5 separate regions of the Homo sapiens genome follow, and all the other regions are linked to region 1. Evidence: promoter capture Hi-C in 16 types of primary human blood cells and fetal thymus (Javierre and others, 2016). All regions are on one chromosome and are shown on one strand. Each heading gives the region's core, a stretch centred on a gene start or on the middle of the fragment in contact. The rest is flanking DNA. Distances are from core to core; before and after follow the strand shown.

What was found. Contacts are between HindIII fragments. The CHiCAGO score rates a contact against its expected background, and 5 or more counts as called.
Region 2: a contact is called between the fragment with the promoter of SPINT2 here and the fragment with the promoter of PAF1 in region 1, in 1 of 17 cell types (total B cells). The highest score is 6.3, in total B cells.
Region 3: the fragment with the promoter of PSMD8 here is called in contact with the fragment with the promoter of PAF1 in region 1 in 4 of 17 cell types (fetal thymus, total CD8 T cells, naive CD4 T cells and 1 more); the score reaches 7.7 in fetal thymus.
Region 4: the fragment with the promoter of KCNK6 here is called in contact with the fragment with the promoter of PAF1 in region 1 in 1 of 17 cell types (neutrophils); the score reaches 5.2 in neutrophils.
Region 5: the fragment with the promoter of B9D2 here is called in contact with the fragment with the promoter of PAF1 in region 1 in 1 of 17 cell types (activated CD4 T cells); the score reaches 5.8 in activated CD4 T cells.

The regions. Positions count from the first base shown.
Region 1 is chr19:39,388,719-39,393,449 of GRCh38, forward strand. PAF1 (PAF1 component of Paf1/RNA polymerase II complex) reads right to left here and starts at 2,388. Exons shown (of 14, transcript NM_019088.4): 1 at 2,100-2,388; 2 at 1,542-1,571; 3 at 1,351-1,443; 4 at 922-1,043; 5 at 762-828; 6 at 564-665; 7 at 375-480; 8 at 229-297; 9 at 44-147. The coding sequence starts at 2,146. It overlaps MED29 (mediator complex subunit 29), which reads left to right and starts at 2,660. Exons shown (of 4, transcript NM_017592.4): 1 at 2,660-2,920; 2 at 3,746-3,804. The coding sequence starts at 2,705. It also overlaps a transcript of SAMD4B not described here. RefSeq lists a silencer at 1,046-1,177 and an enhancer at 2,715-3,004. The HindIII fragment of the contact is 958 bases long and covers 1,767-2,724 here.
Region 2 is chr19:38,262,385-38,266,835 of GRCh38, forward strand. SPINT2 (serine peptidase inhibitor, Kunitz type 2) reads left to right here and starts at 2,189. Exons shown (of 7, transcript NM_021102.4): 1 at 2,189-2,614. The coding sequence starts at 2,509. RefSeq lists enhancers at 1-679, 820-1,737 and a silencer at 1,894-2,213. The HindIII fragment of the contact is 1,481 bases long and covers 1,677-3,157 here.
Region 3 is chr19:38,372,431-38,376,995 of GRCh38, forward strand. PSMD8 (proteasome 26S subunit, non-ATPase 8) reads left to right here and starts at 2,141. Exons shown (of 7, transcript NM_002812.5): 1 at 2,141-2,531; 2 at 3,730-3,802; 3 at 3,922-4,024. The coding sequence starts at 2,172. RefSeq lists enhancers at 2,050-2,680, 2,311-2,450. The HindIII fragment of the contact is 10,393 bases long and covers 1,797-4,565 here.
Region 4 is chr19:38,317,187-38,322,113 of GRCh38, forward strand. KCNK6 (potassium two pore domain channel subfamily K member 6) reads left to right here and starts at 2,659. Exons shown (of 3, transcript NM_004823.3): 1 at 2,659-3,086. The coding sequence starts at 2,765. It also overlaps a transcript of YIF1B not described here. RefSeq lists an enhancer at 2,487-3,110 and a silencer at 2,752-2,841. The HindIII fragment of the contact is 18,756 bases long and covers 2,187-4,927 here.
Region 5 is chr19:41,361,242-41,365,679 of GRCh38, forward strand. B9D2 (B9 domain containing 2) reads right to left here and starts at 2,908. Exons shown (of 4, transcript NM_030578.4): 1 at 2,717-2,908; 2 at 2,191-2,282. The coding sequence starts at 2,278. It also overlaps a transcript of TMEM91 not described here. RefSeq lists an enhancer at 2,764-2,883. The HindIII fragment of the contact is 18,483 bases long and covers 1-4,438 here.

The DNA of each region.
Region 1 (4,731 bases), core at 1,138-3,637:
AGGCAGCAAGGAGCAGGCCAAGGTGGACAGCAGGACCACCTACCTAATCATGGCCTGAGACATCATCTCCAACGCAGCTGCACCACTCGTGTCCTTGGGGGCTGGGTCTGAGTCAAAGATCACCTGAGCACATGGATTGATCCACATCTAGGGAGATGGAGGCACTGGGGTTAGATGGGAACAGGCACAAATAGGCTGTCCCTTTCTACCTCCCACCTTGGGCCTGACCTTAAAGTCTGGGAAGACAGGCATGACCTCCACCGGTGTGACTCGGGGTTTGCTGTAATGCTGTGAGATCTGGTGGAACAAAAACAAGGTGAGGAGGAGCTCTGCAGCCGCACCCTTGCCTCTCCCCATCCCAGTCCCTCAATTACTGATTTCTGGGCATCCTCAAAAGTCTTCTCAATGGCTGTGATCTGGCTATCCCTGTCTTTGTATATTTCTTCCTCGGTAAACTGCTGCTTCACAGAAACCCCAATCCTAGGAATGAAGAAAAAGGTCCTTAGGGGCCACTGGACACACCTAATATCTCCACCTTCCCTCTCTTCCTGTTAGTAACTTACTTGACCTCAGGCTTCTCATTGGAGATGCCATAACGGTTGAACTCAGTGGAGATGTACTCTGTCTTTCGCATCCATGGCACCACCTTCGCGTGCTGCTGGGATCTGGGGTGGGAAATCAGGTATCTCAGGACCCCACTGCCCTCCTGCTTGTAGGGCCCACCTGAGCCAGTCTCCAGTACCCATTTGCTACCCACTCACCTCTTGGAGCTGGTGGGGGCCTGAATCTCCTCTTCCAAAAGTTTCTCATCAGCTGGATCTAGAAGAACTAGAGGAGAGCGGGGGGCAGGAGGACCATGAGGGAGGCCCAGGCCTGAGCCTTTGCTGACCTAGAGCAGACCCTCCCTGTCTCCCCACACACCATTGGGGTCGATGCGGTAGGTGTCAGGATTGATGAGATCGATGGTGACCCCCAGGTCTGGCTCAGTCAGGAGGTCATGTTTGTGCTGTTTCTCCAAGGAAGTGGCTTTGTACTGGACGAACCTGGGTGGGGAAACACCTATTGTGGTGTTTGGATTCCAGCTTCACCCCTCACAGCCCTGCTTCCCAGAGGCGGAGCTTCTCTGGGGAGGAACTCAGAATGAAGTGTCCCCCATGGCAGAGTCTGAAAGCTGGCTCCCCAGTGGGAAGGGACTTGGACACTGCTTGCTCCATTAACAATTGAGCAGCTACTACTATGTGCTAGGGTAGGTACTGTGCTAGGCCCTGAGCAGACAGCAGCCAACGAGACAAGCAGTCCCTGCCTTCAAGGAACTCATACCTGAGTAGTTTTCCCATTCCTTAGTCTCACCTGTTCTGGTCGAAGGGGTAGGTGATGAACTTGGGGTCGAAGGGGATATCAGGGAGGCTATTGCAGTACTTGACTCGGCAGACCACTCCAGACCTAGGAACATTAGTGGCTCAAAAGTGGGCCCCCGCTGCCCCACCTCTGCTCCCAGCCCCACTGCCCCACCGCTCCTGGGAAAGCACAGTGGGGCTCACCTCTCAGGCAGAGTCCGGTGGGAATTGGGCCTAGTGGAGAAGAAAGAAACAGTGATAGGTGGAGAGGACGGGATTGACAGGAGAATGAAAAAGGCTTCCCCAACCTTTCAAAAGGTAGGAGGGGTGACAAATGCTGGTTTCTTTGGGTGGTGGTGTGGGGAGTGTCCAAATGCTTTAATGGAAGGAGACAAATGTTCAATTTATTTAGGAAGAAATGCCCCCAAAAGCTTTAATGAACAAGGCCAAGTGCTCAATCCCTTTTGCAGGAGATGGCTTCAAGTGCTTTAATAAAGAACCATGTACTCAATCGTCTTCGGAAGAGGGGTCTCCAAACGGTTGACTGGAGGGATCCCTTCTGGAGGGAGTCTCCAAAAGCCTAATCCCTGAACTGCACGGCGGGGAGGAGGGGAACACCTGAATCTCAGAAGGAACCCGCCCCCTTCGTCAAAGGTGAGCGCTTCATGACGTCACGGGCAGACCTGGGGGCTGGTGACGTTGTTCAGCAGAAACCCTCTCCCGATCCCCCGCCTTGCTGCAACAGAAAAGCGTGGCGCCTACCTGTGGCCATCCTCCCGCTGGGCCTGGGTCTGGATGGTGGGCGCCATAGCGACGAGGCGACGGCAGCCCGGACGGGGTCCTAGCGGGACCGAAGGGGGACGCAGAGGGGCGTGCCGACTTCAGGGGACGCCTGATCCGAGGAAGGCCCAGCTTGGCGCCGCTCCCCGCGGAAAGTGGGTTGAGATGAGGTGGGCGGGCGAGAAGAGCTCCAGCGAGACTCAGGTGAACGCGCAGGCAGCACCGGGGACGGACTCGAAGCTCCGGTTCCACCAACTGCCGCCAAGACGCTGAGGACCCAACGGGTCTCCTCAGGCCGCGACGCCTTCGGGGAAATGAAGTCCGGCTCGGAACCACACACGGATTGGCGAGCGTCTGGGTGAAGGGCGGAGCGAGGGAGAGAGGTGCTTCTGTGATTGGTGGAGAGATATCTCAGTCTGGACGCAGATTTGAGAGTGACGTAACGTTGGGGCACCTCCTTCCCCTCCATTGGCTTAATTGCCTAGGGGGCGGGACTAACTAGCAAACGGGGACTAGAAATAGGGATGCTGAAAAGCAACGGGGAGAGACGCAGTCGTAACGCACTTCCGGCGGTCTACGCGAGGAAGATGGCTGCATCCCAGCAGCAAGCTTCAGCGGCTTCCTCAGCTGCTGGTGTATCGGGTCCTAGTTCGGCTGGCGGCCCGGGTCCCCAGCAGCAGCCGCAACCGCCAGCACAACTGGTGGGCCCTGCCCAGAGCGGCCTCCTGCAGCAACAGCAACAGGACTTCGATCCTGTGCAGCGTTATAAGATGCTCATCCCGCAGCTGAAGGAGAGTCTACAGGTGATTGGCCTTAAGCAGCGAGAAGCAAACTGGATTTGGTAGTCTAGAGGGGCAGGCCGAGGGCCAGGTTAGTCGGAGAGAGCGCTAAGCAGAAAGAGGAATAGAACCTGCTGTTTTGGCCTGGCTGGTGCACGCCTGTGTTCCCAGCACTTTGGGAGGCCGAGGCGGGCGGATCACTTGAGGTCAGGAGTTCAAGACCAGCCTGGTGAAACCTCGTCTCTACTAAAAATACAAAAATTAGCCGGGCATGGTGGCGCGCGCCTGTAATTACAGCTACTCGGGAAGCTGAGGCAGGAGAATCGCTTGAACCCAGGAGGCGGAGGTTGCAGTGAGCCGACATCGTGCCATTGCACTCCAGCCTGGGCAACAGAGCGAGACTCCGTCAAAAAAATAAATAAATAAATAAATAAAACTGTTGTTTTCTGCGAGACCTAAGCGAAGCTCGGCAGAGATGGGATCAGCGCTGATGCTGAGGCTGGGACTGGCCGGAGCTTGAGTGAGGGGTTGTTTAAAGGAGAAACTGGGCTCTGGTCGTTAAAGCCTGAGGAGAGTACTGGCTTATACGGAGATTCTGCCCTTGATTGATAGGTGAGGGAGGACCCTTAGGTTATTGGCGAGAAGCTCAGGTGAGAGCGGGCCTCTGGGAGGATGGAGTGGTGACAGCTATAGGAATGGAAACGAATATTACTTTGGAAAGTCAGGAGGGAAGGTGCCAGTTGAAAAGAAAACCTGAGACTGAGTGATCTCAAGAAAGAGTGTAGATCTGCCAGAGGTATTCCCTTTTGTTTTTCCATTTCCCACGTGTTTTGTTTTTGTTTTGACTAGACCTTGATGAAGGTTGCGGCCCAAAACTTGATTCAGAACACTAACATCGACAATGGACAGTGAGTGCAGCCCCCTTTACCAGGATATTCTATTGCCTTCCCAGTCTTTGAAATTCATCTTTCCTTCTCCTGCTCCCCGCCCACCTCACCTTCTATATTTACTTTTTTTTTTTTTTTTTTTTGAGACAGGGTCTCCCTCTGTCACCCAGGCTGGACTACAGTGGCACGATCTTGGCTCATTGCAGCCTTGAACACCTGAGTTAGGAGATCCTCTTGCCTCAGCCTCCCAAGTAGCCAGGACTACAGACATGGCTACAGACTACAGATGCCTGGCTAATTTGTAAGATTTTTTTATAGAGACGGAGTCTTGCTATGTTTCCCAGGCTGGTCTCAAACTCCTGGCCTCTAGCCATCCCCTCAGCCTCACGAATCACTTCTCCTATTTTATTTTATTTTTGTTGTTGTTTTGTAGAGACAGGGTCTTGCCACGTTGTCCAGGCTGGTCTCAAACTCCTGGGTTCAAACAGTCCTTCCACCTTGGCCTCCCAAAGTGCTGGGATGACAGGCATGAACCATCATGCCCAGCCTTTTCCTTTTCTTTCTTTCTTTCTTTCTTTTCTTTTTTTTTTTTTTTTTTTTTTTTTTTTTTTTGAGACAGAGTCTTGCTCTGTCGCCCAGGCTGGAGTGCAGTGGTGTAGTCTCAGCTCACTGCAACCTCTGCCTCCCGGGTTCAAATGATTCTCCTGCCTCGGCCTCCCAAGTAGCTGGGACTACAGGCGCGTGCCAGCACATCTGGCTAATTTTTGTATTTTTAGTAGAGATGGGGTTTCACCATGTTGTCCAGGCTGGTCTTGAACTCCTGACCTCAGGTGATCTGCTCGCCTCGGACTCCCAAAGTGCTGGGATTACAGGCGTGAGCCACCGTGCCCAGCCTCCTTTTCTTTTTTTTTGAACCCCTCCGGTTTTCAACCACTACTTCAGATCTCC
Region 2 (4,451 bases), core at 939-3,438, 1.1 Mb before region 1:
CACCGTGTTAGCCAAGATGGTCTTGATCTGCTGACCTCGTGATCCACCCGCCTTGGCCTCCCAAAGTGCTGGGATTACAGGCATGAGCCACTGCGCTCAGCCCTCCTTTTGAGTTTTTGTGTTTAAAGTTCAAAACTGGACAGATGCAGTGGCTCACGCCTGTAATCCCAGCACTTTGGGAGGTCAAGGTGGGCGGATCGTGAGGTCAGAAGTTCGAGACCAGCCTGGCCAACATGGTGAAACTCCATCTCTACAAAAAATACAAAAATTAGCTGGGCGTGGTGGCGGGTGGTGCCTGTAATCCCAGCTACTCAGGAGGCTGAGGCAGGAGAATTGCTTGAATCCAGGAGGTGGAGGTTGCAGTGAGCTGAGATCACAGCATTGCACTCCAGCCTGGGCAACAGGTGAAACTCTGTCTCAAAATAAAATAAAATAAAGAAAGAAGAGGCCTATACCTTCTTCCAAGCCTTGACGGCTCAGCACATACTTCTCTGTTTTCATGCTCAAGCCTAGGTTTAGTAGGCCTGAGTGGCAGTGGGAGATTCAAGTGCTGGGGGAGACCTTTGGCCTCACATTCAGATTCCACCTTGAGTCCCATGATCTCATTGCAAGGTTAGACTTCCATTGTTTAAGGTAAATACCATTTTGATAACTCAGTTACGGCTTTTCATGTATTATTATGCTAGGAGGGAGGCTGAAGAGTGGGAGTGGCCCTGGCTCCTGAACACACTATTCTCTTTCCTGCCTGAAGGCCTCCGCATGTGCCATTCCTGATTCTTGGAATGTTTGTCCCTTGGCCTTTATCATCCTTCAGAGTTCATTATCAAAGCCACCCCTCACAAAGCCCTTCCTCCGCCACCCCATTCAAAAGATCTCTTGTTATTTTCCATCCCAGCCCCTGATTCCTTTTCTGTATAGCACTGTCAAAGTGTTTTCAGGCCAGGTGTGGTGGTTCACGCCTGTAATACAACACTTTTGGAAGGATGAGACAGGAGGATCCCTTGAAGCCAGGAGTTTGAGACCAGCCTGGGCAACATAGCAAGTCCCCTGTCTCCACAAAAAATTTAAAAATTAGCTGGATGTGGTGGCTCACATCTGTAGTCCCAGCTACTTGGGAGGCTGAGGTGGGAGGATCCCTTGAGCCCAGGAGGTCAAGGCTGCAGTGAGCCAAGATCACTCCATTGCACTCCAGCCTGGGCAACAAGAGCAAAACTTCCATCTCAAAAAAAAAAAAAAAAAGAAATAATCTAAAAGTGTTTTCAATAATAATGCATTTATGTTGATTACCTTGTTGGCTATCCTCTACTCGTGTGCCTGCCCCACTCCATTCCCCTTTCTAGAGTCTGTTCACGTAACTCCTCTTCCAGGAAGCCCTCTTTGACTCCCAGGCTTGGTCAGGTGTCTTCTCTGGGTTTCCCCAGGGGCTTCCTTCCTCTCAATTCTGATGCTGCCTGTGCTAAGTATTTGTCTCCATATCTGTCCTGAGAACCTTGGAGCCAGGGCTCGGGGCTGTTTTTGCATGGGCCTATCACCTCCTCCAGGAAGCCCTCCTTGGCCCTCTCTCAGGCTGGATGGGAAAGCTGTCTGGGCTCCCATCATGCCCTGGTTTTCTAGCGACCCAGCCTCTGATCCCTAAGCTTGGCCTTCCCCATCACAGCTTTCATCACTTTGTGCTAAGCTTCCGCTATCACTACTCTGGGCCGTTCCTGTTTGGTGACTCAGGGACCAGTCTGGCATGGCCACCGCTGGGTCCCCAGCATTAAGCCCTGGAGCATGAGCCCAGTGAACTTTGAAATTCAGGAAGGAATTCACAGGAAAGCTGCGGCGAGGCGGGCAGAAAACCACAGGCTTCCAAGAAACGCGTGTCTGCCGCCCCCTCCTCCCACCCTGAGGCCAGTCCTAGAGCGAAGGCCCTCCTCCGACGTCGTCACCAAGCCCAAGGGAAGGGTGGCAGGTGCTCAGCGGGCAGACGCCCCGCCCCGCCCCGCCAGGTTCTGTTGGGGGCGAGGCCCGCGCAAGCCCCGCCTCTTCCCCGGCACCAGGGGCGGGCCCAGGTGCGCCCAGGGCCGGGGAGCGGCCGCGCAGGTGCCTGCCCTTTGCGCCTGCGCCCAGCTCGCCCTGCCTAGCCAGGTGCGCCCCGCCCCCTGCCTGCCCGGCCACCTTCGGGAGCCGCTTCCAATAGGCGTTCGCCATTGGCTCTGGCGACCTCCGCGCGTTGGGAGGTGTAGCGCGGCTCTGAACGCGCTGAGGGCCGTTGAGTGTCGCAGGCGGCGAGGGCGCGAGTGAGGAGCAGACCCAGGCATCGCGCGCCGAGAAGGCCGGGCGTCCCCACACTGAAGGTCCGGAAAGGCGACTTCCGGGGGCTTTGGCACCTGGCGGACCCTCCCGGAGCGTCGGCACCTGAACGCGAGGCGCTCCATTGCGCGTGCGCGTTGAGGGGCTTCCCGCACCTGATCGCGAGACCCCAACGGCTGGTGGCGTCGCCTGCGCGTCTCGGCTGAGCTGGCCATGGCGCAGCTGTGCGGGCTGAGGCGGAGCCGGGCGTTTCTCGCCCTGCTGGGATCGCTGCTCCTCTCTGGGGTCCTGGCGGCCGACCGAGAACGCAGCATCCACGGTGAGGGCCGGGCGGGTAGGCTGGAGGCGGGGCGCAGGGGGCAGAGGCTCGGGGGTCAACGGGGGTCTGAGCAGGGAGAACTGGCGGGGGAGGAAACTGGGGGCTACTTGATGGCGTTCAGCGGGTGTGGTGGAACCAGCCCTGGAGGATTGAGCCTTGAAATGAGGTTTGGGAGCCTTCGACAGCGAAGACGGGCGGAGGAGCGAGGGTTAGGAGAGTTTCCTTCGGGTGGAGGAAGAGTCAAGGGGTATTGACCAAGAAGGCGTGGCACTGCCCCTTCCTGTGGCAAGAACGGGGTGAGGAGCCGAATTGAAGACCAGCCTTCTCCTGGCGGTGGAAAGTTCCATGGCCAAAGCTCAGGGAGAGGCCAGGCCTGTGAGATGGTGGGGGTTGGGTTGGGTGACCTGGTGGCCGTTTTAGACTCGGAAGAAGCCCATCTCACCCCTGCCTCTTTGGAGATTGGACAAGAGCCTCCCCTGAAGTTTTTGTAGTTGAGTTGCAGTAAAGTAGGTGCCCGAGAAGGAGGGAGCAAGAAAGGAAACAAGCTTTGGGGAAGAGGAAGCTCTGCTAAGGCTCGAGAGAGTATTGGCGTTGAGCAGCTGGTGTTGGGGTCTTTGGATTGGCCCTTAGAAGTCGGTGGTGAATAAGGTGATTTAAACTTCTACACTCTTAAGGAAGTGTGGTCTGAAAGGTCTCTTTGAACAAGTGTTGTTATAACCTTAACTGCTTCAGACAAGCACCAGCGTGTTTTGAAAAGAGCTCTCTTGAAAGCAAGAATTCATTGATTCAGCAAAACTTACTGAGGCCCTGCTACGTGTCAGGCACTGGCGCTGGTTATAACAGTTAACTCAGACTAGCTGGGTTCCTGCATTCACAGAGCTAATATTCCAGTGGGAGAGGCAGAGCTAGTGAAGGTTTAAAAAGCACTTGCCATGAGATTAAGTTACTGAGAATTAAATGAACCAGGTGAAGTACACCAACAGGGTGACGTAAGATGTTGGGGGCGGCTTTAGCTCAGGTGGTCGGGGGACGTCTCCGTGAGGAGGGTGACATCTGAGCTCTAACATGAAGAATGAGGCAGTAGCCACACGGAGACCTGGGGGACCAGTGTCCAGTTGCAGGCAATAGAGTACAAAGGCCTTGAAGCTGGAACAAGCTTGGTTGGGTTCAGGGAAAAGACAGAGCCAGCCTGGCTGGAGCAGGCGTGAAGGAGGGGAGGACTGGAGGAGGATGGGAGGTGGGAGAGGTTGGCTGCAGCCAGATGGCCTAGGGCTTTATAGACAGGTGCTGGTGCTTGAACCCGGGAGGCGGATGTTGCAGTGAGCCAAGATCGCGCCACTGCATTCCAGCTTGGGCAACAAGAGTGAAACTCCCATCTCAAAAAAAAAAAAAGAAGGCCGGGTGATGTGGCTCATGCCTGTAATCCTAGAACTTTGGGAGGCCAAGGCGGGCAGATCACTGGAGGCCAGGAGTTCAACACCACCCTAGGCAACATGATGAAACCCCGTCTCTACCAAAAATACAAAAATTAGCTGGGCATGGTGGTGCACACCTGTAGTCCCGGCTACTCGGGAGGCTGAGGCAGGAGAATCGCTTGAAGCCCAGAGGCGGAGGCTGTAGTGAGCTGAGATCAAGCCACTGCACAGCAGCCTGGGCGACACAGCAAGACTCAGTCTCAAAAAAAAAAAAAAGAGCAGGCTAGGTGTGTACCAAGTCATCACCTGTGGTAACTTCTGGGGACTGGTTAATTTCTCTGTGCCCTAGGCAGGAGAAAAAAGTGAATTGGTGGGGAGAGGCTCAGCTGTAGGTGACTGGGAGTCAGGAATGCAGACGTTGA
Region 3 (4,565 bases), core at 891-3,390, 1.0 Mb before region 1:
GGGTTTCACTGTGTTAGCCAGACTGGTCTCCATCTCCTGACCTCGTGATCTGCCCGCCTCAGCCTCCCGAAGTGCTGGGATTACAGGCATGAGCCACCTGGCCTGGCCATATCAACGTGGTATTTTGTTTATTTGTGTCTTTTTCTTTTTTTTTTTGAGATGGAGTTTTGCTCGTTGCCTAGGCTGGAGTGCAATGGTGCGATCTTGGCTCACTGCAACCTCCACCTCCCAAGTTCAAGTGATTCTCCTGCCTCAGCCTCCCGAGTGAGTAACTGGGATTGCAGGCACCCGCCACCATACCTGGATAGATAATTTTTTGTATAGTAGAGACGGAGTTTCACCATGTTGGCTAGGCTGGTCTCAAACTCCTGACCTCAGGTGATCCATCCACTTCAGCCTCCCAAAGTGCTGAGATTACAGACTTGAGCCACCACACCCGGCCATCATTTTTGTTTAAAACATTTTTTACCACCACAACTTCTTTCACATATTAATTTACTCATTAATTCAACACATATATAATTTCTTTCTTTTTCTTTTTTTCTTTTTTCTTTTTTTTTTTTTGAGCACAGTCTCGCTCTGTCACCCAGGCAGGAGTGCAATGGCGATCTCAGTTCACTGCAACCTCTGCCTCCCGGGTTCAAGTGCTTCTCCTGCCTCAGCCTCCCAAGTAGCTGTACTACAGATGTGCACCACCACGCCCGGCAAATTTTTGGTATTTTTACATTTATTTATTTATTTTCTCTGAGACAGAGTCTCACTCTGTCACCCAGGCTGGAGTGCAGCGGCACAATCTCAGCTCACTACAAGCTGACCTCCTGGGTTTAAGCGATTCTCCTGCCTCGGGCTCCTGAGTATCTGGGATTACAGGTGTGTGCCACCACGCACAGCTGGTTTTTTTGTTTTTTTTTTTTGGTATTTGCAGTACAGATGGGGTTTCGCCATGTTGGCCAGGTTGGTCTCGAACTCCTGACCTCAAGTGATCTATCTGCCTCGGCTTCCCAAAGTGCTGGGATTACAGGCATGAGCCACCATGCCTGGCCAACAAATATTTATTGACTGTCTACTAATATTTGCCAAGCACTGAGATACTGGGAATTCAGTAGTGAAGGAAATCGTCCTGCCTTCATGGAGATGACATTCTAAATGGTGGAGACGGAGAGTGAAAGTCGGGTTTGAGAAAAACGTGCTGCCCAGGCGCAGTGGCTCACACCTCTAATCCCAACACTTTGCGAGGTCAAGGCAGGAATATCGCTTGAGCTCAGGAGTTCGAGACCAGCCTGGGCAGTATAATGAGACTCTGTCTCTATAAAAAATTTAATTTTTTTTAAAAAGAGAGAAAAAGCGATGTTGAATGTGCAGATGTAATATCAATCAGTGGAGGAAGAAGTTGGTATAAGAAGTTGTGAATACTGGCCAGGCAAGGTGGCTCATGCCTGTAATCCCAGCATTTCGGGAGGCCAGGGCCCAGGGAATCGCCTGAGTTCAGGAGTTGGAGACCAGCCTGACCAACATCTACTAAAAATACTAAAATTACGTCTCTACTAAAAATACGAAAATTAGCCAGGCGTGGTGGCACATGCTTGTAATCCCAGCTACTTGGGAAGCTGGGGCAGAAGAATCACTTGTACCCAGGAGGCGGAGGATGCAGTGAGCCAAGATTGCTCCATTGCACTCCAGCCTGGACAACAAGAGCTAAACTCCGTCTCAAAAAAAAAAAATTGTGAATCCTCCACTTACACATGACATTGAAAGCCATAGAGCTGGATGAGTTTTGTAACTAGTTAGTTCATATAAGCTTGGGAAAAAAATGTGGAAGGATGCATTGAAAAAGACTGGAGAGGGAGCCCCAGGTACACATCCTAGCTGTTAGTCCTTTGGAAGGTTACCCAGCCTCTCAGTCTGTCTATAAAATGAGAATAACACAGCTCTCCAAATGGCACGACACCCGCTACCTTTTGGCTTGGAGACGCTGCCCCGAAGGCGGAACCTCCAGGACAGCTACGTAGCGTCCCGAGCACTCAGACTGAAGCCAGGGCAGCCATGTTCATTATTGGAACCGTGAGGTGGGTAGGGGGGGTGGTGTTGAGACAGCTGTCATTTTCAGTTAGGGCAAAAGCCAACTTCCGGTCACCATCTTGAGTGACGACAGAGGCGGAGCTCCAACTGACATGTTCATTAAGGGCAGGGCTCCGAGGGCGCCACCTCGAGAGCGACGGCGGGCTACCCGGGGCGGGCTGAGGCAGGTTGTAGCCCCGCCCCGGGCCTTGGGCTCCACCTCTCGGCCCCACTTCCGCCGGGCAAGCGTTTGTAGGCGGCGCTGCCGTAAATCAGGCGGTCTGCTTGCCGCATCACGCAAGATGGCGGCCGCGGCGGTGAACGGGGCGGCAGGCTTCTCGAGCTCCGGGCCCGCGGCAACCTCGGGCGCTGTTCTGCAGGCCGCGACCGGCATGTACGAGCAACTCAAGGGCGAGTGGAACCGTAAAAGCCCCAATCTTAGCAAGTGCGGGGAAGAGCTGGGTCGACTCAAGGTAAAGTCGGCAGGCCCAGGAAACCGAGTGTTGCGGGCGTGGGAGGCGCTACGAGGTGTCTGGACCCAACCAAGTCCCGGGCCGCGGAAGCCACCTCGGTGCCAGCGAGACTGAGGCGGGCTGGGGGATCCGATGGGGTGAAAGATTTGGAACAGCCAAAGTGGGGGCTCGGAGGGCGTCAAGAAGCGAGAGAGGGACAGGGAGCGTTGATGGTCACGCCTGTAATCGCAGCGCTTTGGGAGGCCGAGGCGGGGGAGCGTCGCTTGAGCCCAGGAGTTCAAGATCAGCCTGAGCAACATAGCGAGACTCTGTCTCTACATTTTTTTTTTAAGTGAGAGATGACTGGAATGGACCCACGCGGGGGTGGTGGGGGAATGATTGGAAGACTTATGGCAGAACTGAGTGAGGGGTTAGATTTTTGGTGCGTGGAGGCTTAACTGGTCGGAGTGGCAGGATTGGGATTCGGGCTTTTCCTGATGGTGGATTCCAGGCAAGACCAAGTGGGAAGTGAGGACTGCCCGGAGTGATAAAAGAATGAGGCTGAAAAGGTGGGCTGTGTAGAGGGTGTGTGGTTAAGACCAGGCTGGGTTAGGATCTGAGAGATCTGGGGCTTAGGCTCGCATCTGTTGGGAGAGGGGGCAGCCTAGTTGTGAAGGCAGGACTGAACCTAGAAGAAATATTCTTACAAGTAGAGAACAAGAATACGGGGCCCAGAGTGCTTCAGACCAAACATCTGTTGGGAGGGAGTGTAAATCCAGTGGCTTGGAACAAGCTGCTGAGCCTGCTAAGGAAAGATGTATGGGCTGAACTGTGGGGGGAGATTTGGACCTCCCCCTCCCAGATATAGATTTTGGGGATAGCCCAGCTACCCCTTCCCCAATAGATTGTGGGGAAGATGGGCCAAGAATGGAATGTACTCCTGTCCCCACCGCCGCGTGATTCCACTGGGTCAGGCACTGAGTGTCCCTCCTTGTTTCCCCAGTGGGGCTATTAATAATTGTAATGTGATGTAATCTTAAATGGGCATGTGTTGCGTGCTCAGGCCCTGTTCTGAGTGCTTTATGAGAAAGCATTCCTCATGAGTCTGGATGATGGTTAGCTCCATTTTCCAAGTGGGAAGACCAGAGCGTAGAGCAGGTAAGTCATCTGTATTTGAATTCCCTTCTTTTCTTTCTTCCCTCCCTCCCCTCCCCATCAGCTAGTTCTTCTGGAGCTCAACTTCTTGCCAACCACAGGGACCAAGCTGACCAAACAGCAGCTAATTCTGGCCCGTGAGTGTCACTGGGGTTGGTTGGGGGTGATAATCTGGGGGTCATGGCAGGAATGGTAGCACTGGTGGTTGGGGAAGAGACCTCAGTCACCTCCTGAGAGCTCACTCTGTCACCCACAGGTGACATACTGGAGATCGGGGCCCAATGGAGCATCCTACGCAAGGACATCCCCTCCTTCGAGCGCTACATGGCCCAGCTCAAATGCTACTACTTTGATTACAAGTGAGAATGGGCCCTGCCCCCAACTGGGGGGGTGGTTGCATGGAAGCTCCTTTATTTCTGGAGCTCTGGCTGCTTGGGTCCTCTTCCTTCATCTGGGAACTCCTCCTGGCTTAGTTCTCTCCTCAGTGGTGCAGGGTCAGGGCTTGGCTTGGAGGTCCTGAGACTTGGCTTGACTAGTCAGTCTCCCCCTACCCATTCCCACATTGCACCCCCTCTGCCCAGTGGGGCTGCCATCACCTTTCACGTGTCCTGGCCCCAGCCTTGCCCCTCTGACTCAAACCCCTGTGGCAGCCAGTAGGATCATGTGACACTAAAATTTGACACTGTCCATACCCCGCTCAGAACCTGCCGTGGCTCTTCATGGTCCTCAGGCACAAGACCAAGTTCTTTCCTGTGGCTTCCAATGCAGTTCCAGCTCACACCCCTCTGCCTGTGCCTGCTCATCCCAGCCCTTTCTCTCACTGGACTGTGAGCTTTCTAAAGGCAGAGCTTGGAACTGTCTCAGTTACTGCTATGTCCCTAGCACTGCCTACCACAGGGC
Region 4 (4,927 bases), core at 1,409-3,908, 1.1 Mb before region 1:
AGTCTCTCCTCTCTCTGACTCTCAGTCTCCCCCCTTCTCTCCCTCTCAGACTCCCCGACTTATCTCAGGAAAACATAGTGGTGGAAGTTACTTCTGCGCAGCGATAGCGCATCCGGAAGGATGTCAGCAAGTGACCCTATCGCTGTGGCTTCCTCTTCCTCCTCTGAGACGTTGTCTTTTTGGAGACCTTAAGGGCTGCTCCTGGTTTCTCAGTGATGAGTGCTGGCTCCACTGTGGTTCCTTTTTGTGAGCGAAATGCCCGCATTCTTCTTCACCTCTGATTTAGCCTCTGTCCCCTGGGCTCCAACACCATTTTCTCCTCATCCTCAGCCCTCTCTTGCTCTGGTTGCTCCAGATACATCTCTTCCATAAATGTTTTTTTTTTTCTTATTGCTTTTTTGTTTGTTTTTTGAGATGGAGTCTTGCTCTGTCGCCCAGGCTGGAGTGCAGTGATGCGATCTCGGCTCACTGCAACCTTTGCCTCCTGGGTTCAAGTGATTCTCCTGCTTCAGCCTCCCGATAGCTGAGATTACAGGCGTGTGCCATCGCACCTGGCTAATTTTTTGTATTTTTAGTAGAGACAGGGTTTCGCCATGTTGGCCAGGCTGGTCTCGAACTCCTGACCTCAGGTGATCCACCTGCCTTGGCCTCCCAAAGCACTGAGATTACAGGCATGAAACACCGCACCCAGCCTTATGTATATATATTTAATTAATAAAGCAAGTACTGCCAAGTGCAGCGGATCACGCCTGTAATCCCAGCACTTTGGGAGGCCAAGGCGGGCAGATCACCTGAGGTCAGTTTGAGACCATCCTTGCCAACATGGCGAAACCCTGTCTCTACTTAAAATACAAAAATTAGCTGGGTGTTGTGGCGGGCATCTATAATTCCAGCTACTTAGGAGGCTGAGGCAGGAGAATTGCTTGAACCCAGGAGGCAGAGGTTGCAGCGAGCCGAGATTGTGCCATTGCACTCCAGCCTGGGAGACAGAGCGAGACTCTTGTCTCAAAAAAAAAAAAAAAAAAAAAAAAAAAGCAAGTTCATTAGTTCATTGGCTTCCTGCTGGCCTCATGTTCACCCCTTACCAGTTGTGTGACTACTACTTTTTATTTTTTTGAGGCAGGGTCTACTCTATCACCCATACTGGAGTGCAGTGGTGCGACCATAACTCATTGCAGTCTCTAATTCCTGAGCTCAAACGATCCTCCTGCCTCAGCCTCCCGAGTAGCTGGGACTACAGACGCATGCCACCACACTTGGCTAATTTTTGTATTTTTTGTCGAGATGGGGTTTTGCCATGTTGCCCGAGCTGGTCTCAAATGACTACTTCATTTTTAAGCCTAAATTTTCTCATCTGTTTAGTGGGAATTATATTGGGACGGGGTTGAGAATTCAGTGCAAGTTCAGGTGTCCACAGGGCCTGGCAGAATGTAAGCCTTCGATCACTGGCACCTATTGTGTTACTGATTCTATTATCAGGTGCCTCTGCTTCTGGATTGTCAACCCCAAGTTGGGCTCTGCCCGGTGATCTGCCAGCTCTTTAATAGAACCAGCTGGGACATGTCTGAGCTGAGCCCCAAGCCCCACTCCTCTGCCAGTCGGATGGGGTTAGGACTCTGGGCTGCCCTCCAAAAGGCTGTCAGGAAGGCGCTGAGTTCTGGCTGGAGGCAGAAGTGGAGAGACTTACGGGGGGGCGCAGAAAGAAAAATTTCCTCTTAAATAGAGGCGTGTATTTGTGATTCTGCCTGGCTTGTTTCCATTCATCCTTCATGCTTCAGCTCAGCTAGCCCCTTCCTCAGGAAGCTCTCTTGACCTCCCTAGGCAGGGGTGGTTGCTTCCTCTGGACTCCCAGGGCCCTCTAGGGCTCCCTGATTCCAGGCTTGATCATTGTACCCTTGCTTCCCTCATCACAGCCCTGACCACTCTGGGCTGTCTTTTTTCTTTTTTTTAGAGATAGGGTCTCACTCTCTCCCAGGCATAGCTCACTGCAGCCTCGAACTCCTGGGCTCAAGCAATCCTCCGACCTCAGCCTCCCGAGTAGCTGGGACAACAGGCGTGGGTCACTCTTGTGTCAGTCTCCCAGTTAGACTGGGAGCCCCATGAATGCATGGCGCAGGATGGTCTCATCATTACTGAGTCTCCAGGATCATCCAGCGAGGGGTCAGCAGAAAGTGGGCATTGAACAAAGCTTTGGTGAGTAGCTGAGGATCCCCACTCTGTCCACACGGGCACAGGGGACACCTGACTCTGTGGTGTCCGCTGTTCCCACTCCGAGGCTCACAACTTGGCGAATGGAGCGAGAATTGGATTTCAGTTTGCCCCTTGCTCCGTCAGCCGCGCGCCCTGATGCAGTGCACAACCTTAGCTGCTGTGCGCGATGGGGGGCGACTCCTCGGCCTGCGAGCAGAGAGGAAAGTTCAGATTCTTCTAACATAGAGAACCAGCCTTCCAGGAGGACGAGAAGGAAGGAATGAGGGGAAGAGAGGACTACCTCCACCCTTTCCATCCCGTTGGTCTGCTGGGTCTGGGAGCACTGGGCTCCACCCTCTCCGAACGAACACCTGGCGGTTGGGCGTGCCTCAGTTTCCCGGAGGCGGGGCATTCCTCCGTCGCCGCCCCCCACCTCCCCTTTTTCCTCTTCCTCTTGGGGCATCTGCTGCCGCGCCTGTAGCACTCCCGGAACTGGAACTAGGTGCCAGACGGTCCGGAGGCGGGGGCCACGTCAGCGGGGCCACCCAGGGCTCGCGGGGTCCCGGTGGGTGCCATGCGGAGGGGCGCGCTTCTGGCGGGCGCCTTGGCCGCGTACGCCGCGTACCTGGTGCTGGGCGCGCTGTTGGTGGCGCGGCTGGAGGGGCCGCACGAAGCCAGGCTCCGAGCCGAGCTGGAGACGCTGCGGGCGCAGCTGCTTCAGCGCAGCCCGTGTGTGGCTGCCCCCGCCCTGGACGCCTTCGTGGAGCGAGTGCTGGCGGCCGGACGGCTGGGGCGGGTCGTGCTTGCTAACGCTTCGGGGTCCGCCAACGCCTCGGACCCCGCCTGGGACTTCGCCTCTGCTCTCTTCTTCGCCAGCACGCTGATCACCACCGTGGGTACGTAAGCGCCTCACCGCAAGGCGGCGAGGACCCGGGATCCCCACTTCATCCTTAACCCCTGGGGACCCCGGGGCCCTCACGAATACCCTTATCCCAATCCCCTCTGGGCTTCGGATCCCCCGAAAAGACCCCAGTGAGGACCCGGGACCCAGGCTCATGATATCTGCTCTGCTCGGGGAGCCCAAGTCCGAGCCCTTCCTCCTAAGTAGGAAACACCCAGCTCCCCTCAGAGTACCTTTGCAGAGACCAGCTGGGACCCCGTTCCTCGGTCTTTTTTTTTTTTCTTTTCTTTTTCTTTTTTTGAGACAGGGCTTACTCTGTCGCCCAGGCTGGAGTGCAGTGGCACGATCTCGGATCACGGCAGCCTCCGCCTCCCGGTTTCAAGCTATTCTCCTGCTTCAGCCTGCCGAGTAGCTGGGATTACAGGCACATACCACCATGCCTGGCTAATTTTTGTATTTTCAGTGGAGACGGAGTTTCACCATGTTGGCCAGGCTGGTCCCAAACTCCTGACTTCAGGTGATCAGCCCGCCTCGCCCTCCCAAATTGCTGGCATTACAGGCTTGAGCCACTGCACTGGGACTGCATTCCCCGGTCTTAATCCTCTTGGTGACCCGGGTCTGTCCAGCCCCCTCTAAGCCTAGGACTGTCCTCAGAGACCTCCAGCAAGGACCCAGGACACGCCACCCTCCAAGGGAGATCCTTGCCCCCTCTGGACCCAGAACTCAACCATGCCAGGACCCCTGACTTTATCTCTAGTCTGGGCCTGCCACCCTTGCCATGTCTCCTGACCCTCCAGATATGTCCTTCTGGGAAACCCCCCTGGAGAAACCCCATCTCAACCTCCTCCTGACCCTGGCGCCTTAGCGAGGACCCTAAATCTCCAGACCTCTCAGGGTGTCCTCACTAAAGACCTCCCTCCCAACAGAGATTCCTCAGCAAGGACCTGGCACCGCCATCTGGGACTCCTGGCCCTCTGGACCTGGGCCTCTGCTCCAGACTGTCATCTGTCTCCTGGCCCCATACTCCCCAGCAGGCAACTCTGACCCCAGACACAAAACCCTTCCCTAGGTACCCCACCCCATCTTGACATCTCCCCTATATGGGGTCACTCTCAATGCAGGATTTTCCTCCCAATAGGGACACCACCTGTTCCCTCTGGACCTGGGACTCCCAATTCAGCAGCCCCAGCTAGGGATGTGTCAAAAGGACCCACCGTGGAGGGACCCCGAGTTTTGGGAAACCCTGAGAAGCCAGACTTGGGAAATCTCTTTGTTGCCAGGCTCTGCTGCTCCCCCAGCCCCTTCTCAGCTCCCAGACTTCCTCTTTGTTTCTTTGTTGGGGATTTGTTGAGGAGAGGAGGCTGGTGCAGGGTTAGCCCAGACTCCTAACTCGCCCTCCCGGCCAACAATAGGGGGCAGCTTTTGCTTTTGGTCCCCTGGCAGCAGAGCTGGGTGACTTCTCGTTAGCTGACCTCCCCTGGGTCTGCCCATGCTGCCAGGGCGGCCTGACCTGCTTCTGAGCTTCCCTGGGTCATGTGCACGCCTCCTACCTCTTCCCAGATCCTGGCTTCTAAGAAGTCATCCCTGGCAGGGCAGATGAGGGAAGCCAGACACACGTCAGGCACAGCCTGGCTACATCCCTGCTCAGCCGCGGCTCATTGCCAGGCCTCAGTGTCCTCCCCCATTGCTAAAATGGAGATAATAACACTCCCCATTTCCCTGTAATAGCAGTAGCCTGACAGAGGACTTGCCAATGCATGCTTTAACTCACTTAATCATCACAACAGCCTTGTGAGGCAGGCGCCTTTATAGGCTGTATATTTTTAGCCATGGAAA
Region 5 (4,438 bases), core at 1,658-4,157, 2.0 Mb after region 1:
TGGGCTGAGTTGAGGGAAGCACCAGGCCCTGCGTCAGGCTCCTTAAAAGCAAGATTTCCCAACAGCCCTATGAAGAACAAATGAGGAAACTGAGGCTCCAAGAGGGGACAGCCTCTGCCCAGGGTCACAGAGAAGGTGAGTGGTCCAACCTGGAAACCAAGTCTGACTCCAGAGCCTGCCCCTCATCCATCAGCTGGAGGGTTCCGATTTCCTGGGAATTTCAACTTCCACCTCACTTACCTGTAGAATCAAAAAGGACCCAGGGGCCAGGCGCAGTGGCTCACACCTGTAATCCCAGCACTTTGGAAGGCCTACGCAGGCGGATCACTTAAGGCCAGGAGTTCGAGACCAGCCTGGCCGACATGGTGAAACCCCATCTCTACTAAAAATACAAAAATTAGCTGGGTATGGTAGCGGGTGCCTGTAGTCCCAGCCACTCGGGAGGCTGACATAGGAGAATCGCTTGAACCCAGGAGGCAGAGATTGCAGTGAGCCGAGATCGTGCCACTGCACTCTAGCTTGGCTACAGAGTGAGACTCTGTCTCAAAAAAAAAAGGGCCAGGCGCAGTGGCTCACGCCTGTAATCCCAGCACTTTGGAAGGCCTACGCAGGCGGATCACTTAAGGCCAGGAGTTCAAGACCAGCCTGGCCGACATGGTGAAACCCCATCTCTACTAAAAATACAAAAATTAGCTGGGTATGGTAGCGGGTGCCTGTAGTCCCAGCCACTCGGGAGGCTGACATAGGAGAATCGCTTGAACCCAGGAGGCAGAGATTGCAGTGAGCCGAGATCGTGCCACTGCACTCTAGCTTGGCTACAGAGTGAGACTCTGTCTCAAAAAAAAAAAAAAAAAAAAAAGGGCCAGGCGCAGTGGCTCACGCCTGTAATCCCAGCACTTTGGGAGGCCGAGATGGGCAGATCACAAGGTCAGGAGATCGAGACCATCCTGGCTAACACAGTGAAACCCCATCTCTACTAAAAATACAAAAAAAAAAAAAATAGCCGGGCATGGTGGCGAGCGCCTGTAGTCCCAGCTATGCAGGAGGCTGAGGCAGGAGAATGGCATGAACCTGGAAGGCTGAGCTAGATTGCACCACTGCACTACAGCCTGGGAAACAGAACGAGTCTCAAAAAAAAAAAAAAAAAAAAAAAAGGGACTAGGACTCAGGCCTGAAGACATGATAATGCCAAATGGCCACATCTGTTTCATAGACATTCATCTGTGCCACGCAACAACATACCCCAGGCTTTACAAACAAGACCCCATCAAAGTCTTGTATAAGCCAGGCAAACACTGAATGAGCACTTCCTATTCCAGCCCTATTCCTATTCTAAGTGCTGTTGATACTCGTTTAGTACTCATGACAACTTCAACAGGTAAATATTTCTATGACTCTCATTGTACAAACAAGGAAGTCGAGGTGAAGAGAAGTGCCCAAGTTCACATAATCAGCCCAAGGGTGCCTTAACAAGCAATAACTGGTTTTGAACCCAGGCAGTCTGTGCTCTTAACCTCAAACCTGTGCTGCTTCTTAGCTACTATTAGCTTCACTTTGAAACAAGGAAACTGAGGCTCAAAGTGGTCGAGTCCAAAGGTCTCCAATTAATAGGTGGGGGAGTTAATATTTAAATGCAGATCTGGCAGCCCATGACCCTAACCATTACACTATACCATGACTCTATAGGGCCTCAGTTGGGGAAGCATGAACAAAATTACTTTCCTGGGACGTGGCGGCTCACGTTTTTAATCCTAGCACTTTGAGAGGCTGAAGTGGGTGGCCTGTTTGAGCGCAGGAGTTCGAGACCAGCCTGGGCAACATAGCGAGACCCTGTCTCTACAAAAAATAAAAAAAATTAGCCAGATTTGGTGGTGCGTGTCTGTAGTCCCAGCTTCTCAGGAGGCTGAGGCGGGAGGATCACTAGAGCCCGAGAGTTCGAGGCTGCACTGAGCTATGATCACACCACCTTACTCCAGCCCGGGCGCAGAGAGAGACCCTGTCTGTATCCCACCCCTCACACACACAAAGATGGGAGCTTGAGACTCATGTGGACAGGGTGTGGGCTGGGCCTGGAGTACTGAGAACTGATGGAAATGAGGTTAAGAGTCTGCGTTAAGGGGTGGAGGAAGGAGCATGTAGCCTCTAGGCTAGGGGTCTTGGTGTGGAAATGAACCAGGCTTGGGGGAATACCTGTGTGAATGCCCCACTTGCAGAAGAGGCTACTTTCCGAGAAACCGCTGGCCCCTATGATCTGCCCGATCACGTGCACCTCAGCCATGGCCCTGGGAGGGGAAAAATATAATCACAACCCTGTGAGGTAAGTGTATTATCTCCATTTGACGGGGGGGAAACTGAGGCCCAGCAAGTAAAGGGTAGTACTAGGATTCCAAGCTAGCTTCGTCACACCCCTGAGGCTGAGGTCTTGACCACAGATCCTAATTGCCAACCCATGAAAGCCTGGAAAAAATGGGGGGACCCTTGTCTGGGGAACCAGCATTTAACTCTGGGAAGTCCAAAATAACCTTTTCGGGTTCAGGTCGGCGGAAAGCCCCGCCCGAAGGGGCTATGGCTCCGCCCACGAGCGCAAAAGACCCGCCTTCCGCGTCACGCCAGCCACCCCGCTTCCCTCCCCCAGCAAGCTCCATAAGGCGCATGCGTTATGAGTTCAGGTCCGACTTAACCCCGCCTCTAAGCGCAGCGCATGCGTCATTCCTACCTTAGCGCACTTAACGGTTAGGAGAGGAGAAAGCGGCAACCGGGGTTGTAGTTCATGGGCTTGACTGCTTCTTTTCTCCGCGGGCGCCGACCAGGCCTGGCTCGCGCCTCTCCCAGGACCCGCCTGGCTGCGAGATATGTAAGCCGCGATACTTCCGCGACCGCGCTCGTCTTGGTTTCCGTGGTTGTTGCTGGGGCAACAGCAGGCTCCTCCCCTAGCTTTGTACTCGCTCTGCGCGCTACTAATTGGTGCTAGCCGTCTGCGGGGGGCGGGGTGAAGCTGTGATGGACATTTTCCTCCTCCGCTCCATTTTGGGAAAATAGCGTCTCTCCAGCTACGGCAAAGGGTTCCGCCATTTTGGGCGTGGCTAGGAAGCTGCCATGTTGAGTGTGGCTGAGGAAGTTTGAGTGCAGTTTCTCCCAGATACCTTCTTTACCAAAAAAGCAAATCCCTAACTGCTCCGTGCTGCGCCTACCCCACCGAAGAGCTCTCTGTGGTCCGGGATCACAAATCAGAGATTGAACCAGGACCAAGGGGGAATTCCTTCCAGGACCTCGTGTACATCCCCGGCCTTGTAACTGGAAAACAAAGCAAAAAAATCACTCCTCATTCAGAGAGTGGAGAAGTTGGGGAGTGGGTTCTGCTTCCGTTTTAGAGTTCCCCTAGGTTTCTCAAGGACAAGGAAGGAAGGAAGTTGGATAAGTCCAACTTCCTTCTCGGAGCTACTACCAAGTTCACTGTTACTGCTTGATTCTGAGCAAGGAGCGGTTGGGGTAGCGAAGAGAAATGAGGAACTAAGATTCCCTTATTTGCAGAAAATCCTCTTTCCTATTGATTGATTTATCAATCAAGAAATGGAGATGTTGTCCCTGGATGCCATCCTAGATGCCATCATTTCCCACATCAAGCCAGTCATCAGGTCCCATCAAGGCTCCTTAAAAGGGTCTCACTCTGTCACCCAGGCTGGAGTACGGTGGCTCGATCACAGCTCATTGCAGCCTCTTAACTCCTGGGTTCAAGGGATCCTCCTACCTCAGCCTCCCATGTAGCTGGTATCACAGACATGCACCACCACGGCTGGCTAATTCTTTTTTTTTTTTTTAAGAGATGGAGTCCTGCTATGTTGCTATGTTGCCCAGTCTTGTCTTGACCTCCTGGGCTCTAGCTATCCTCCCAGTTCTCCCTCCCAAACTGCCGGGATTACAGGCGTGAGCCACCCAGCCAGGCCAATAGATACAAAGTATTTACAAGCTACCATTGGCTAGGCGCGGTGGCTCATAACTGTAATCCCAGCCCTTTGGAAGGCTGAGGCGGGAAGAGCTCTTGAGGCCAGAAGTTCGAATATAGGGAGACCCCATTAATAATGCATATATCAACTAGTGAAGTATTCCATTGAATTGTTTAATATAAATGTTATCCTATTGAAATGTTGTACCCTCGTTATAATTTTGGTTTTTTACTTTTTGAGATGGCGTCTCCCCCTGTCATCCAGGCTGGAGTGCAGTGGTGCGATCCCAGCTCACTGCAATCTCTGCCTCCCGGGTTCAAGAGATTCTCCTGCCTCAGCCTCCCGAGTAGCTGGGACTACAGGCGTGCACCACCACACCCAGCTAATTTTTGTATTTTTAGTAGAGACGGGTTTTCACCATATTGGCCAGACCGGTCTCAAACTCCTGACCTCAGGTGGTCCACCCGCCTCAGCCTCCCAAAGTGCTGGGATTA